Linked DNA regions of Homo sapiens: regions 2 and 3 are each linked to region 1. The links are contacts of gene promoters, found by promoter capture Hi-C in blood cells and fetal thymus (Javierre and others, 2016). All regions are on one chromosome and are shown on one strand. The core of a region is centred on a gene start or on the middle of the fragment in contact, and the rest is flanking DNA. Distances in the headings are between cores, read along the strand shown.

What was found. The method cuts DNA at HindIII sites, captures the fragments that hold promoters and counts their contacts. A CHiCAGO score of 5 or more calls a contact.
Region 2: a contact is called between a fragment that was not itself captured here and the fragment with the promoter of SGO1 in region 1, in 1 of 17 cell types (fetal thymus). The highest score is 5.1, in fetal thymus.
Region 3: a fragment that was not itself captured here is called in contact with the fragment with the promoter of SGO1 in region 1 in 1 of 17 cell types (non-activated CD4 T cells); the score reaches 7.4 in non-activated CD4 T cells.

The regions. Positions count from the first base shown.
Region 1 is chr3:20,184,333-20,188,895 of GRCh38, forward strand. SGO1 (shugoshin 1) reads right to left here and starts at 1,874. Exons shown (of 8, transcript NM_001199251.3): 1 at 1,616-1,874. It overlaps SGO1-AS1 (SGO1 antisense RNA 1), which reads left to right. Exons shown (of 4, transcript NR_132785.1): 4 at 1,643-1,783. RefSeq lists enhancers at 1,592-2,271, 2,292-2,351. The HindIII fragment of the contact is 754 bases long and covers 1,398-2,151 here.
Region 2 is chr3:17,230,713-17,235,275 of GRCh38, forward strand. It overlaps TBC1D5 (TBC1 domain family member 5), which reads right to left. Exons shown (of 23, transcript NM_001349074.2): 18 at 2,973-3,038. Among named protein-coding and RNA genes, the nearest start is that of PLCL2-AS1, 180 kb to the left of the region's middle. RefSeq lists enhancers at 1,225-1,519, 1,894-1,963, 2,963-3,032. The HindIII fragment of the contact is 1,211 bases long and covers 1,959-3,169 here.
Region 3 is chr3:17,734,264-17,738,826 of GRCh38, forward strand. All of the region lies in intron 1 of TBC1D5 (TBC1 domain family member 5), which reads right to left. Among named protein-coding and RNA genes, the nearest start is that of TBC1D5, 6.1 kb to the right of the region's middle. The HindIII fragment of the contact is 4,840 bases long and covers 154-4,563 here.

The DNA of each region.
Region 1 (4,563 bases), core at 624-3,123:
TATGCCAGACACTATTGAAAATGCTTATTATTATATTTTGATGCATTATTTACACTTTTTATAGAAAATGTTTAGGACCAACTTTTACTGCTTAAGCTTACAGCATTAGTTCTGAGGCAATTATATATTTGGGTTTTGTTTTCCAGCTCTTCTCTAATGATTAATTCATCAGATTAGGTCATTCAACTATTTTTCCATACTCTTTAAACGCAATTATCACTTATGATATGCACACAGTCTCAAGAAAGTCAAGGTACTCCTTAGAGGTTTAAACTATGTAGCACTACATACAATTTTAATAGGCTATTGTAACAAGTACAGAGCTAGAGCAGGAACTTGGGCAGAGGAACACTCTAGTATTCTCAAACTGTGGCTAAAAGTTAGGGCTGTTAACTCCCAGTAAATTATGAACATAACAAATCAGACATTAAATATTGTTGTACATACAGTTAAACGTTGAGTATTAAATACATAACTATACTTAATCTTTCAACGTTGCAAATCAGGTAGGCTTTAGCATGCTACTAAACATGTCAAACCACTTTTCACAAACATCTTTTACGCTAGATTGCACTTTGCAGATCTTAAAATTGCAAAAAAAAAAGACTTGTTTCCAATAACAATCTATGCACAGAATTTTCACTACAAAGGATATCTTCATCTCCTCTACGATAGTCAAATATTTTCCTAAACCTTACACTTAATCTTGAGTATTTCCTCCAGGCCTTATTTTCCTCTATGCAGTGTCTGGAATCTTAAATATAGGTATTGTAGATACCACTTAAGAACTTTCTTTCTACCAAGGTATATACAATATGTACTGGGAGGTTCCTAGCAGAGATAGGGTAGCTATTTTTAAAAGCACGAACGGTAAAGGGGTTGTTTTACACAATTAAGTTAGAATTGGAGATGTTTGAGAGTCATACAGATTAAGTAACGGATCTAGTTTAGTTAAGGTATTTTAAAGGCAAAGCCTTACCTAAAAAGCTTTCGTTATTACTTTTAATCAAGTTAAAAATCACAAAAGAAACTTGCCATATCAAAAGTTTTATATCCTGTCTAAATAAGGCGATGGTTATTAGCAGGGGGTGTGGTAGACAGAAGGGATGAAAGCAAAGACAGACCACAGCGCGAGATGACGGTCTCAATCTGTACAGTACTCGTGTAAGCGCTCTGGATTTAAAGAACCTAGCATATTTGATCTCCGTCCATAATTCTCCAATTAGTCCTGCTGCGAAGACAGCCAGGTAGGATACTAGTCAGTGCCGGCCTCTCCAGGGTAAGTGAGGAAGAGAATGGCCTGGACAAGGAGGACGTCAACGGTATCACGCTGCACAAAGAACTGCTGTCAATTTTCTTGTGTCCTTACGTTGAGCCAGGCTTTTAGCTATTGTAAAAGCTTTATTTGCACATCACTTAATCTACACAATTTTGCAAAGTAGGAAATTAGGGTCTCCATGGAAGCCGGAACATCTGAAAGCGCAGATCGAGTGGCTGAACGGCGAAAAGCGCGGCGAGTGGGACTCCACGGCCCGAGCTTTCGGCCACCGAATTTAGAATGATACTGAAAACCGAAGGGAAGTCAAACAGGGATCACTACGCCCTTGTTTCGCACCTTAAAACCTACTTCTTCCTCTTTCAGGGACTCCAGGAAGGCCGGGGGGAGGTGGGGCTGGCGGAAGTGGACGCGGCGACCCTCCTGCCGCAGGCGCGTCCAGAACGATACCTTGGCCACTACTTCTGCAACAGCTATCTTCCTCCTCCTCACATTTCAAGGCTCTTCGAAGCTCTCCAGCCACGGCTAGCCCCGCGCACTGGGCCCTCCAGGACCGTACCACCGTCCGCCGTCGCCTGGAACTACCGCCGCCACATTCGAAATTTTCCGCCTCGCTCCTCCATTGGTTGGCTGGGAGGCGGTCACGTGGCGCAGGATGCACCCAACACCACCGTCGCAGGCAGAGTCCCGCCCCGCCAGGCGACGTCACGTGACGCACATTCGCTCAAGTCCACATCCGGGCATCCACCTGGCCCTGGGGCGGAGCCTGCGGTCGGGTCTCGGCGACCCGCCGGGACTTTCTAATCAGAGTCGTGGGGATTTTACGGGTGGAGTTACTCCGAAACCTTTAAGGCCGAGTGTGATAGGTAGTTCAAAGCTTCCTGTTTCTTCAGTCTGACAGCTTCAAATGTCCCGGGTTGTGCTCAAAGCCTCCCTCTTGTGAGAAGAATCTCTTTGGTTGCCTGTTAAAGCGGTCAGCCAGCTTGCAACACGGAAGCAGCTTTTAGAGGAATTAAAACCAAAACAAGGAGCAAATTCTGGATTAAAAAGGTATTAGGGAAACTGCAGATACCTGAAAATTCTAGCTCCATGTTTCTCTTTGCCGGCTATCTCTGGCTCTTTAACTCTTCTCGAGAAATGGCACCAACATCCATCCAGTTACCGACTAGAAGCCTGAGAAATCGTCCTTAATGATTATTTATCCTCTCTTAACCTTTGCCCGTCCAGTCGGTCACACGATCTTCTCAACTCTGCTTTCCAAGTTTCTCTCATGCCCATCTTTTTCCCCCCAATCCAGCTTCCAGCCTAATCTCATTCCCTAAATTGCACTAGTACCCACTCTGACCGCAGACTCCACTCCCTATATTCTTCATAGATTAATATTTTTACAAAACAAGTATCAAATAGGAAACTTTACAATGGCTCCCTATTGCATTTAAGGTGAATTTCAAACTCCTTTAAGATATTTTGTCCTTAAAGAGCCCCATGATTCCTGGTTCCATCACTTGTACATTTTCTTTAATTTTCTTAAAATTCTTGCCACTTTTGCCAATGCTGTTCTGTCAAGAACACTCTTTCCCTTGGCCGAACTTACTCCTATGTATACTGAAGTTTCACTGTACAGATGAATTCTTCCAGAAAGACTTATCTACCCCTAAAGCCCCTGAGTGTCTGCTTTACACTTTCTTAGTGCCCTGCATTTTCCCCTTGGTATTCCTTGTGACACTGACTTGTCGTTCATTGCCTGTTTCTTGAAGTTGAATAAGGGCAGGAACTACATCTGCTTTGTTCATAGCTAAATTGTCAGCATCTCGTTGCAATTTGAAGTAAGTAGTAAATATTCACTGGGACAATAAAGGAACAAATAAATGAAAACGAAACAAATGTTTTGAATCTAGGCATTCTTTATGAAGGTGTGTTGTTGTTTTTTAAAGGTAGCTAACACATGCTTGCTCTAGTCTGGGTACCCATCCTGGCTTGAGTGGAAGAGGCTGAAACACCCTTCTCCAGCCAACAACTCCCTCGTTTTCCAAGTTAACCAGACCAACTCCATTAACCCTCAGTTTACTGCCACTGGGCAATGTGGCTTATATGTGTAGAAGCATCAAGAAGGAATGGGCAGAGAGGTTTTTTGTTGTTTGAGGTCAGAAAATTATGAAGTGGAACATGAGAGCAGAGAATAGGGCCAGCTTCATGAGCAGGCAACCGGTGCTTAGAAGGGCTGTACATTTGGTTTAATGCTCTGCTGTTGCCGTCTTGAAATGCTTAGGAGTTTATATTTGAACTTATGTTTTGTAAGTGATGTCTGATGAGACAATGGAGCAATCTTGTGAGCAGATGTGATTCATGCAATGTGTGTGTCTGTCACTGTTTCTTGCCCCATGTCATACAATGTTCAGGATGCGCACTAAATGGCCTCCATGAACCACTTATTTTGTAGTTAGGGACCTAAGTACAAAGTGCTCAGAAGGGCTCACCCTTGCCCTCTTGAAATTATTATTATTTTCTTTGAGACGGAGTTTTGCTGTGTCTCCCAGGTTGGAGTGCAGTGACATCATCTTAGCTCACTGCAACCTCTGCCTCCCAGGTTCAAGCAGTTCTCCTGCCTCAGCCTCCCAGGTAGCTGGGATTACAGGGACCCACCACTACGCCCCCTAATTTTTGTATTTTTTTGTAGAGACAGAGTTTTGCCATGTTGCCTAGGCTGGTCTCAAACTCCTGAGCTCAAGTGATCTGTCTGCCTCAGCCTTCCAAACTGGGATTACAGGCTAAGCCATCATGCCCAACCACGTTACTATATTTTCTAACCACTTACACTAAAAGTGATGGCATGAAAGGAAAAGGAAAGATAAGACATTCCACAATTCCTTTTCTTTTCAGTCTTTCTCTACTTATCGGTAAGCTGAAGGTTTTTGTCTTGGATTTTGAACAAGGAGCATCATATTTTCATTTCACATTGACCCACACAGATTATATAGCTGGCCCTGACCAAAGGCTTTGAGGTTCTGACTTTTTGAGGGGTGTCTTCCCCGTTCCCAATTTAAAAATGGGTCAGACTTCAAATCAGGTGTTTATTATAGAGCCCTAAAGAATAGAAATGGCTGAATTTAGGGGCAGTGAGGGAAAATACCACCAGAGTCCTAGCATGAGTAACTTTTGTACATCAAAATGTTCTACTGCCGCTGATTTTAGGGAACTGAATTACTGTTGGAATCAATAGCTCTTTTAAAATTTTGTGGAAACTACAACTCTTCCCAGGAAGAATGCACATATTCCTTTTTGAACAA
Region 2 (4,563 bases), core at 1,314-3,813, 3.0 Mb before region 1:
GAAATTATTTTAAAAAATCTAAAATTCTTTCCTAATGGTCCATTTTATGTTAATACCTAAATCTAGTCATCTCTCAGTATCCATGGGAGATTGGTTTCAGGACCGCTGTGGATACCAAAATCCAAGGATGCTATAGTCTCTTATATAAAATGGTAGTACTATTTTTAAATAACCTACGCATATCCTCCTTTATACTTTAAGTCATCTCTGAATTATTTATAATACCTAATACAATGTAAATGCTACGTAAATGGTGGTTATACCATATTGTCTAGGGAGTTATAAGAAAAATGTCTGTACATGTTCAGTAGAGACTCATTTTTTTTCTGAATATTTTTGACCTGTAGTTGGCTGAATCCAGAGATGTGAAACCCATGGATACAGGGGGCTGACTGTACTTCTGTTGTTACAAATTCCAGATTCTCTTTAAAAATAACATATGTCTTGTGTGTGTACCTGTGTTTAAAGCTTTTTGATTTGTGAATAAATTCATAAATATCTCTTGACAAAGGTTTCCGGGGGTAAGTATGCAATTTCTAAAACTAATTTTGAAGAACCTCACTGAGTTAAGTCTTTGATAAACAAAGTCTGCTGTGGCTTTTTTTTGGTGTGTGATTGCAACCTACACTGCAAGATATAAAATGAAATTTTTGAATAATTCTCTAAAAATTACTTATTGATCTAAATTATGGAATCTCACCTTATATTCAGGTTTTTTCTTAAAAATAAAAGCCCATATAACTGCTGTGTTAAAAGTCAAAGATACAGACATAAAATTTCATTAAAAAAAGACTATCTATAATCAAGGAATCATCAAAAGTATTGATACTTACTTTATTTCTTGAAATTTACTTCATTGCTTTGAAAAAAGACACTTGGGAAAATCTAAGTAGTTTAATTCCTTGACACTGATTATATTAAGCATAGATAGAATTTTTTTTTCTGCTACCACTATTTTGGTTTACTTCTACTTCCCCTTGCTTCTTGGTACTCTTCAGGGAATATGTTGAGGAAGACAAAAAGTGACTTCCCCAAATCAGGTAGGTGTACTCTCATTGTCTATCATTGTCAAAATCATCACCACAGACTAAAAGCTGTTTATTTGTGATTCACATCTATTAAAGTAGCTGGAACTTTCCTTATCAGACTGATACAATCTCTGCTAGGGTATGGGAGGCAGAGGTGATTCTGAATAGGGTATCTAGTAAAAGAGCTGGTTCCCGACTATGTAGGCTTAACTGGGTCACCTAAAGCAAAGGTAATGCCCAACCAACCAGGTAAAGCTGTAAGGAAAGCCAAGGGACCAGTGAAAACAGAGCTTGACACAGCAGCAGGCACTCAATAAATACTTGTTGAATAAACAAATGAGATAATTCTACTTATATAACACGAGGTATTTGAACAAAACAATATAACCTCCCTCTTTGAAGTTCTAGTTAAACAGTTACGTTACTCCTGTGGCTCTGGTTTGTAGGAAAAAAACTGGATTTATTAATAGCATAGAAGCAGAAGTCAGAATAAGCAAGCCAACTCTTAGCTTTTCTTTCCATAGGTATAAATTGGGCTCCATATCCTATGTCTTGCAGAGAAGCCAAAGATCTACTCTGTAGCAATTAATGTTGGGACAACAACACACATGTTAAAAAGTTGTCTGTGGGGCTCAGAATTTAATTTTAGAAAACAAATTTAAGTCTTGTAAATTCTCTCCATATCAGATGATCACATTAACATTCATCTCAGTGCAAAGCTAAAGAGAAATCATGTAGACATTATCTGCCTTTCCTCTTGTCCATGCTATTATACCCTTCTATTATGTAGATCATTTAACAGACAGCAAGAGTGAACAGCTCTTCATGGAATCCCTGAGCTAGAAAAGCCCTTGAAGTTCATCTGGTTCAATTACCAGAATACCTCCAGAAACTATACCTGTGAGACACAGAACTATATATAGAAGTGAAAGCTTACTCCTCTATTGCCACAATGTGGTGGGTTTTTGTTTTTTAAGTTAACCCAATACATCAATCTCTTAATCACAACCCATTCTTTTCTGTTCCACCCCCCCTAAAAAAATGGATAATATGAGGACATATCATTATTAAAACAGTATTTTAATACTACTAGCATCACTATATTATGTGGTATTTTAAATTAAGAAAAACATGGTATGGATTTTAATTAATACTGCTATCATTTTAGTCTGAATTTGAATAGAAGATTCTTAAAGTTACTCTAGGCTTCCATTTAACACAGAAATCCTCTCTATCGCATATTTCATCTAAAAGACTGCATAATAAAAGATTAATGCAGCCACTTTAAGTATTTATATGTTTTAAAATTGCATAGGAGGTAGATGATCACTTTTTGTATTTATTTAAAAACTATATTTTCTATATTTTGAACAAATGGATATGATATTTAAACATTCTTTTTTTAAAACCATTGCCAGTTACCATAAATGAAGATTTGCTACACTGTACTTTAATTGTGTTAACATAATGCGTAATTCAAAGGCAATACTTAAAAACATTTCAAAATCAGGTTGTAATTATTTCAGGCAAAATGTAAGTATTTCTGGCTAATCGTAGCACATAAGATGTCTATTTTCAGAACTAATTGGTCAAATACTGTCACAGAGCACCAGTGTAACAAAAAGAACACCTCAGTGTGAGCTGGCACACAAAGTATACTATGTTATAATAACCACAAAATACAGGGTGAATCATATTTTGCAAAGAGGCTTGTGCACACCTAATAGAAAACCCACATCACAGCCATATTCGGCATCACCAAGGTATGACATGAGAGGGGACTTTTGTTCTTAACAATAGTGCCACTCAGTGGCTGAACAATGGTAGTGAATTGAAAACAGTATGAATGGAGGGTGGGCAAAAAGAAAAATGGAGTTTTGGAGTAGGCAATGATAATACTGTAGGCAAAGAAAAAGAAACACTATGTTGTTATGGTAACTGTACCTTGGAGGTCAGTTAGAGTCTGGACAGGAACAGAAACCTGAGCATCGCTTCCTGTAACTACATCGCCTGGATTTCATAAGAAAAAATAATTAGATTTCATAAAAAGGAAATAATCAACTTCACTTTTCTTTTATACTGAATGTTCTAATACTTTAATCAAATTACTAAAAATATAGTACAAAAGAAAATAATGCACAAGCTTAGAAAAATATAAAATATTTTCAAAGAAAATAATCTTTAAGAGCATGTTTTCTAGAAATGTTTTGTGTTTGTTTTTCTTAAAGAAAACACAAACAAGTTTCAACTAGAGTATAGGAAACTTCAGCAATCAAAAGATTTTGCTGAGCATATTTCATGATGCTACAAATATTAGTGTGATTTTATATTTTCCCTTTCATCCAAAAGTAAGTTATATGTCATTTATTTAAAAATAGGCATTCTTTTGAAATTGATTTCCTCCTATATCAGACAAAATTTATTTTTAACTAACTTGAAACCAACTTCTTCAGTGATAAGATAAAGTCCTCAATAAGTTCTAATTTCACATTAAGTAATGAAAAGATTTAAGTTACCACATGTACTTATAAATGTCAACATGTAAAAATAAACCTGTGAACTGCATACCCTTCACTTGATATACTTATTGTAGGCAAGATTTCATTTACAAATTGGACTTATAGTAAGTGCTTAAAATAATGACATGTTCAAATTAAAAAAGCAATTTAAAATATAGACAAAGGAAACAGGAAAAAAAAAAAACCAAGTGCATTTTAAGAACATAAGAAAGGAAAAGGAGCATAACAGGAAATCTCATGAAGAACCTGAGGTGCACTAACATTTGGAAGGAAGACTTTTTGGTTCTTTGATTTCCTTCCTGGATGACAAAGTTCAACACTAAGCACAGTCACTGTCAACAGAATCATTCTCTGGATATATCACCATCTGAAGGCCTATGCTATTTTCAGACTAACAGGCTAAAGAAAAAAGCATTTTAAAAAAGCATCATATTTTCTATGCATGATCATTTATGATTAATTGACTTGTTTCCCCTTGAGCTTTTATATAATATATACAGTAGTAAAAAAAATCAACTTTTGAGTTAAATGACATATCCTCAGTGTTCTGACCACTATGACTTACAGCATGGCCAGCTAATCCGGAAACTGTTAAGTTGTAATTATACCATCATCATCAATTAACAGTACACACATTTAGTCTCCTATAATTGAAATAAAATCTATAAATAGGAACATACCACAAACAAGTGATAAACAGCTTTTAGTGGAAATGGGCCCCAGATTTTCATAGTATATGTACTCTAAATTCACTGATAATGGCGTGCCTACTTTCTGTATCTTTGAAGGAGATTTTCAATTCTGTGCCTGCTACCTGTTTTACTCTGCTGCTTCTAGATCACTTATTAATGTATAGAGACTGACAACTCATTTTAACATTAAATATCACCAAAACAATTACAGGGAACATCTGGGCTGCTCCTTCACTATCCTACCCCAACACAAAGACAAACTACAGAATGTACTTCAAGCAACACATGTGAGTTTGGATTACAAACACAACTGTCCCCCTATCT
Region 3 (4,563 bases), core at 1,324-3,823, 2.4 Mb before region 1:
TATGTGGAGGGCGGAGGGGGAGAGAAATCCCATTTATAAAAATAAAAAATAAAATACAGTGAGACAGAATAGAAGACCCAATAGTAAAGTTTCTGACATCCACAGAAGAAGAAATCATTCATTAAACAGTATTGAGGAAATTGGCTAATCAAAAGCTTAAAATTTTTTGGACCCTCTACTTCATACTGTACAACTAAACATGTTCTAGAATAACTGCAAAACCAAAAATTGAAAATGAAAGTACGAAAACAGTTGAAAAAATAAAATTAATCACTATATAAACATAAGGTAGGAAAAGCCTATCTACGTAAGATACCTAAAGGAAGAACAAGACTTAGCTACATAAAATGTTAAAACCTGTAAGAAGGCAAGAGAAGGGAAGTATAAAGTCAAACCTGAATAAAGCTGTTTAACAAAAATGATAATCCCAATAATGGCATGTAAAAGGCCTCTCAAATGGCTTTGTTGTAAAGGGTAAACTGGCATAATCTTTTTGGTAGGCAATTTGGCCATGTATAACACAACTGTTAAAGATGGGCAACCCAGGCGTGGTGGCTCACAAATATAATCCAAACACTTTGGGAGGCCGATGTGGGAGGATAGCTTGAGCCCCGACGTTTGAGACCAGCCTGGGCAACATAGAGAGACATGGTCTCTACGACAAAAAAAAAAAAATTTAATTAGCTGGGCATGGTGGCATGTGCCTGTGGTCTCAGCTACTCAGAAGGCCGAGGTGGAAGGATCACTTGAGCCTAGGAGCTCAAGGACGCAGTGAGCTGTGATCGTGCCACTGCATTCCAGCCTGGGCAACAGAGCAAGACCTTGTCTTAAAAAAAATAATAAAAATGAAAAATAAAGATGAGAAAATCTTTTGACCCAGCAATTCCACCCATAACAATTTCTCCTAAATAAATAATGCATAGGCACAGAGGGATATTAGCTATAATAGTGTTCAACGTAGCACTATTTATCATGAAGAATGAAAGAAATCTAGGTGTCTAAGAATGGAGGACTACTTATGGTACATTCATACAATGAAATAGTATGGGGCCACTAAAAGTTACGTAGAAAACTAATGACATGAGTAATATCGTATTAGGTGAAAAACAACTGCAAACAACAAAATAGCTGAATCCATTTCAGTTTTTTTAAAAAGGTATATGAGGCTGGAATGAGGTATAATTGTTATGAGTGGGTCTTTGTTCTTAGAACTCCCCCAAGATGGTGGCGGCCACTCCCAAGATGGCAGCAAGCCTTTTGTTCTCTGACCTGGGGTTCTTGGCCTCACAGATTCCAAGGAATGGAACCTTGGGCCTTACGGTGAGTGTTATAGCTCTATTAGAAGCCATGGGTCACAGAAGAGAACCATGGAACCCAGAGACTAGTGTTCAGCTCAATTAGGACGAACCCAGGCATTTAGCCATGCAAGAACAATGGCGAGTCTTTAGCCCGATCAGGAGCAGCAATGGGCACCTCGCTGGATCAGGAGCACAGCGGACACCCTGCTGGATCTGGAGGGGTGGAAGTCAGCAGCAGGTGTGCGACGACAGCAAACAGCAGTGGTGGATGGCGAGCGAAAGCTCAGCTCGAGAAGTAACAAACACGGACCAGAAGAGTGTGCAGTGGCAAGATTTAATAGAGTGAAAACAGGGCTCCCATACAAGGGAGGGGACCCAAAGGGGGTTGCCGCTCCCTGCTCTAATGCCTGGGTTTATATCCCAATCATTGTCCCTCCCACTGTGCTCTCAGGCAATATACGATTTGACTATTTCTTTACCTCCTGCTTTAGAATAATTTGTATTTTAGTGAGCCCTCTTTACTACCTGATTGGTTGGGTATGAGCTGAGTTACAAGCCCTGTGTTTAAAGGCAGATGCAGTCACCTTCCCCAGCTAGGCTTAAGAATTCTTAGTCGGCCTAGGAAATCCAGCTAGTCCTGCCTCTCATAATCATACCACTGCACTCCAGCCTGAGTAACAGAGTGAGACCTTGTCTCTAAAAAATAAAATTTAATAAAATTAAAATTAAAAAGGTAGATCTATAGGTACACACAAACTTGCACACACACATGCCACAGGATAAAGAGACTTAAATTAACCCCAATCTTAGAGAAATGAAGGTGGGTGAGGAGGCAATTTGACCCAAGTCTTCCTAAGTCACCCCATCTATTTATAAAAATGAGCACTCTTACCTTTAGACTCTTGTTCCTCATGGAAGTAAAAGGGGTCTAGTTTAATGAATATGCAGTAGACAAACATGGAAATAGTGGCACTACCTTTCCATCTCCTATCAACTCCACGTCTCCAACCTTGTTCCCCAAAGCTCCACCAGGGATCCAAGGCAATCAATCCACTATCCCATCCCAGGATGGCAAGAGATGTAACGTTAGGAACTCCTCTAGAACTTCTGCCAGGTAGCTGCTGGGACACCTCCAAAGTCTCAATATAAAGTCAAAACACTTCCTGGAGGCCTGGTGCAATGGCTCATGCCTGTAATTCCAGCACTCCAGGAAGCTGGGGCGGGTGGATCACCTGAGTCAGGAGTTTGAGACCAGCCTGAACAACATGGTGAAACCCCGTCTCTACTAAAAATACAAAAAAATTAGCTGGGCTTGGTGGCATGTACCTATAGTCCCAGCCACTCAGGAGGCTGAGGCAGGAGAATCACTTGAACCCAGGAGGCAGAGGTTGCAGTGAGTAGAGATCGCGCCACTGCACTCCAGCCTGGGTGACAGAGTGAGACTCTGTCTCAATTTAAAAAAAAGACAAAAAAAACACTTCCCACCTGTTGTGGGAAACTCTAAAGGGGTTCATTCTGATCCCCACTTATCAGCAAACAGAATGCATACCTCTGCAGCCGGTTCCTAAGATATGTGCTTATTCCAACTCCATCAGGTGGGAGCCGTTTTTCTCTGATGTATCTTCCCCATGGTGCTTATGTCAGAAGTGGGGGCTTACTTCTCACTGGTCTAGTTATTCTGAAGACTCACAATTAGAAGTGGGAATCTAAGTACTTTTGGTTCAACCTTTTTATCTTACTTAGGGACAAAAAGTTTAGTAACCCTAGAAGATAAAACACTCCTGCTTAACCAACATGTGTTACTCAGCTTTCTAAACTAATACTTGTGGTACAAAACTGACATTCATTTTGCAGTATCTCTCAAGGCAAGACAGCCCTGAAGAGAACCTTAAGAAATTCTCAACAGTGCAGATAATTATTTTTCATCATTTGTTTTTATAAAATTTCAACAATAGGCATTACTTTCTATAATGGGGGGAGGTGGCTCTTTTTTCTAATGGCAGGCTAACCTAACATACTGTGATTACTGGATCTAATACATGCACTCATAGCAGAATTTTCTTTAGACATACATACACACTACTCTTCCATAAAGTATCATAAAATTACATCATTCCATTTTAAAAAGTCAATCACTCTTCTTCATGTAGCCTTCATCACTAGCAAAAAAGTAAAGGTAAACACTCTTGTCTTAACAAAAAAACTATGATAACATGTAATCATCTGTAATGCCTATTTCAAAACTTTTAAGACTATTTTGTTTCAAAAAAAAAAAAACCCAGTTAACATCTTTTCTAGGCAACTGAATTAAGAAAAAGAGTAAATCTGCAATTACTGAATATTTTCCTGGAGTTAGCCACAGAAACCACATGCAACACTGGACAATGACTGAATGACATTATCTTTAGATGTTTTTCATCCAAACTAATGGACATTCAGAAAAAAAGGTGATCCTGTACTAGGCTTCGCAACACTACCCTTGAAAGATTTTAACCAATCCTTTCACACCATCACCAAAGACATGTTTTTTTCTACAGCCCTACTTTCTTGTTTTGAAAGATCTGAGCTGTCAAACTATATTTATTTGCATTTAATTCTCCAAAGGGATAAGAGCATTACTATACCAATTTTGTATTTTCATCCAAAAAGTACAAACTCTGCTTTCTTGGCCCATAGAGCCTTATCCCAAATAAACTGTACAATCTCCAAAAATATAGTCAGTCTTGATTATATAGATATGATCTACCACACTGTAGATTATCCACAGAATATCTATCACTTACGTGATAGCATTAAGGGCTTTAAACACACACTCACACATACACACACACACACACACACTCTCTCTCTCTCTCTAATTCTCAAAGTTACTATTATTTTCCCCATTTTAAAGATGAGAAAAGTGAGGCACTGTGAGACTAAGTAGCTGACCAGCATGGCATTATAACACATATCATAATCATACAGAATTTGTAAAAATATTAAAATTATTATTAATAGCTGAAAATACCAATTAGAAGGCTTCCATCATTCGGATGTGCAACAAATGCTTCCCTGGGATAACCGTAAGTAATGACTTGGCCATTCAGCTGTGAGGCCCAGAAAGCATGGCAGAGCTGGTATGTCCATGCAGCCCACAACACAGCATCAGGGTAAGAAATAAAAAAGCCAACAAGTGGGCATGCAGCAAGGGTTTCAACTCTATCCTAATATTCCAAAAGAACAAGAGAGAATTTGGGACAATCTTAACCTCTGATGATAATCT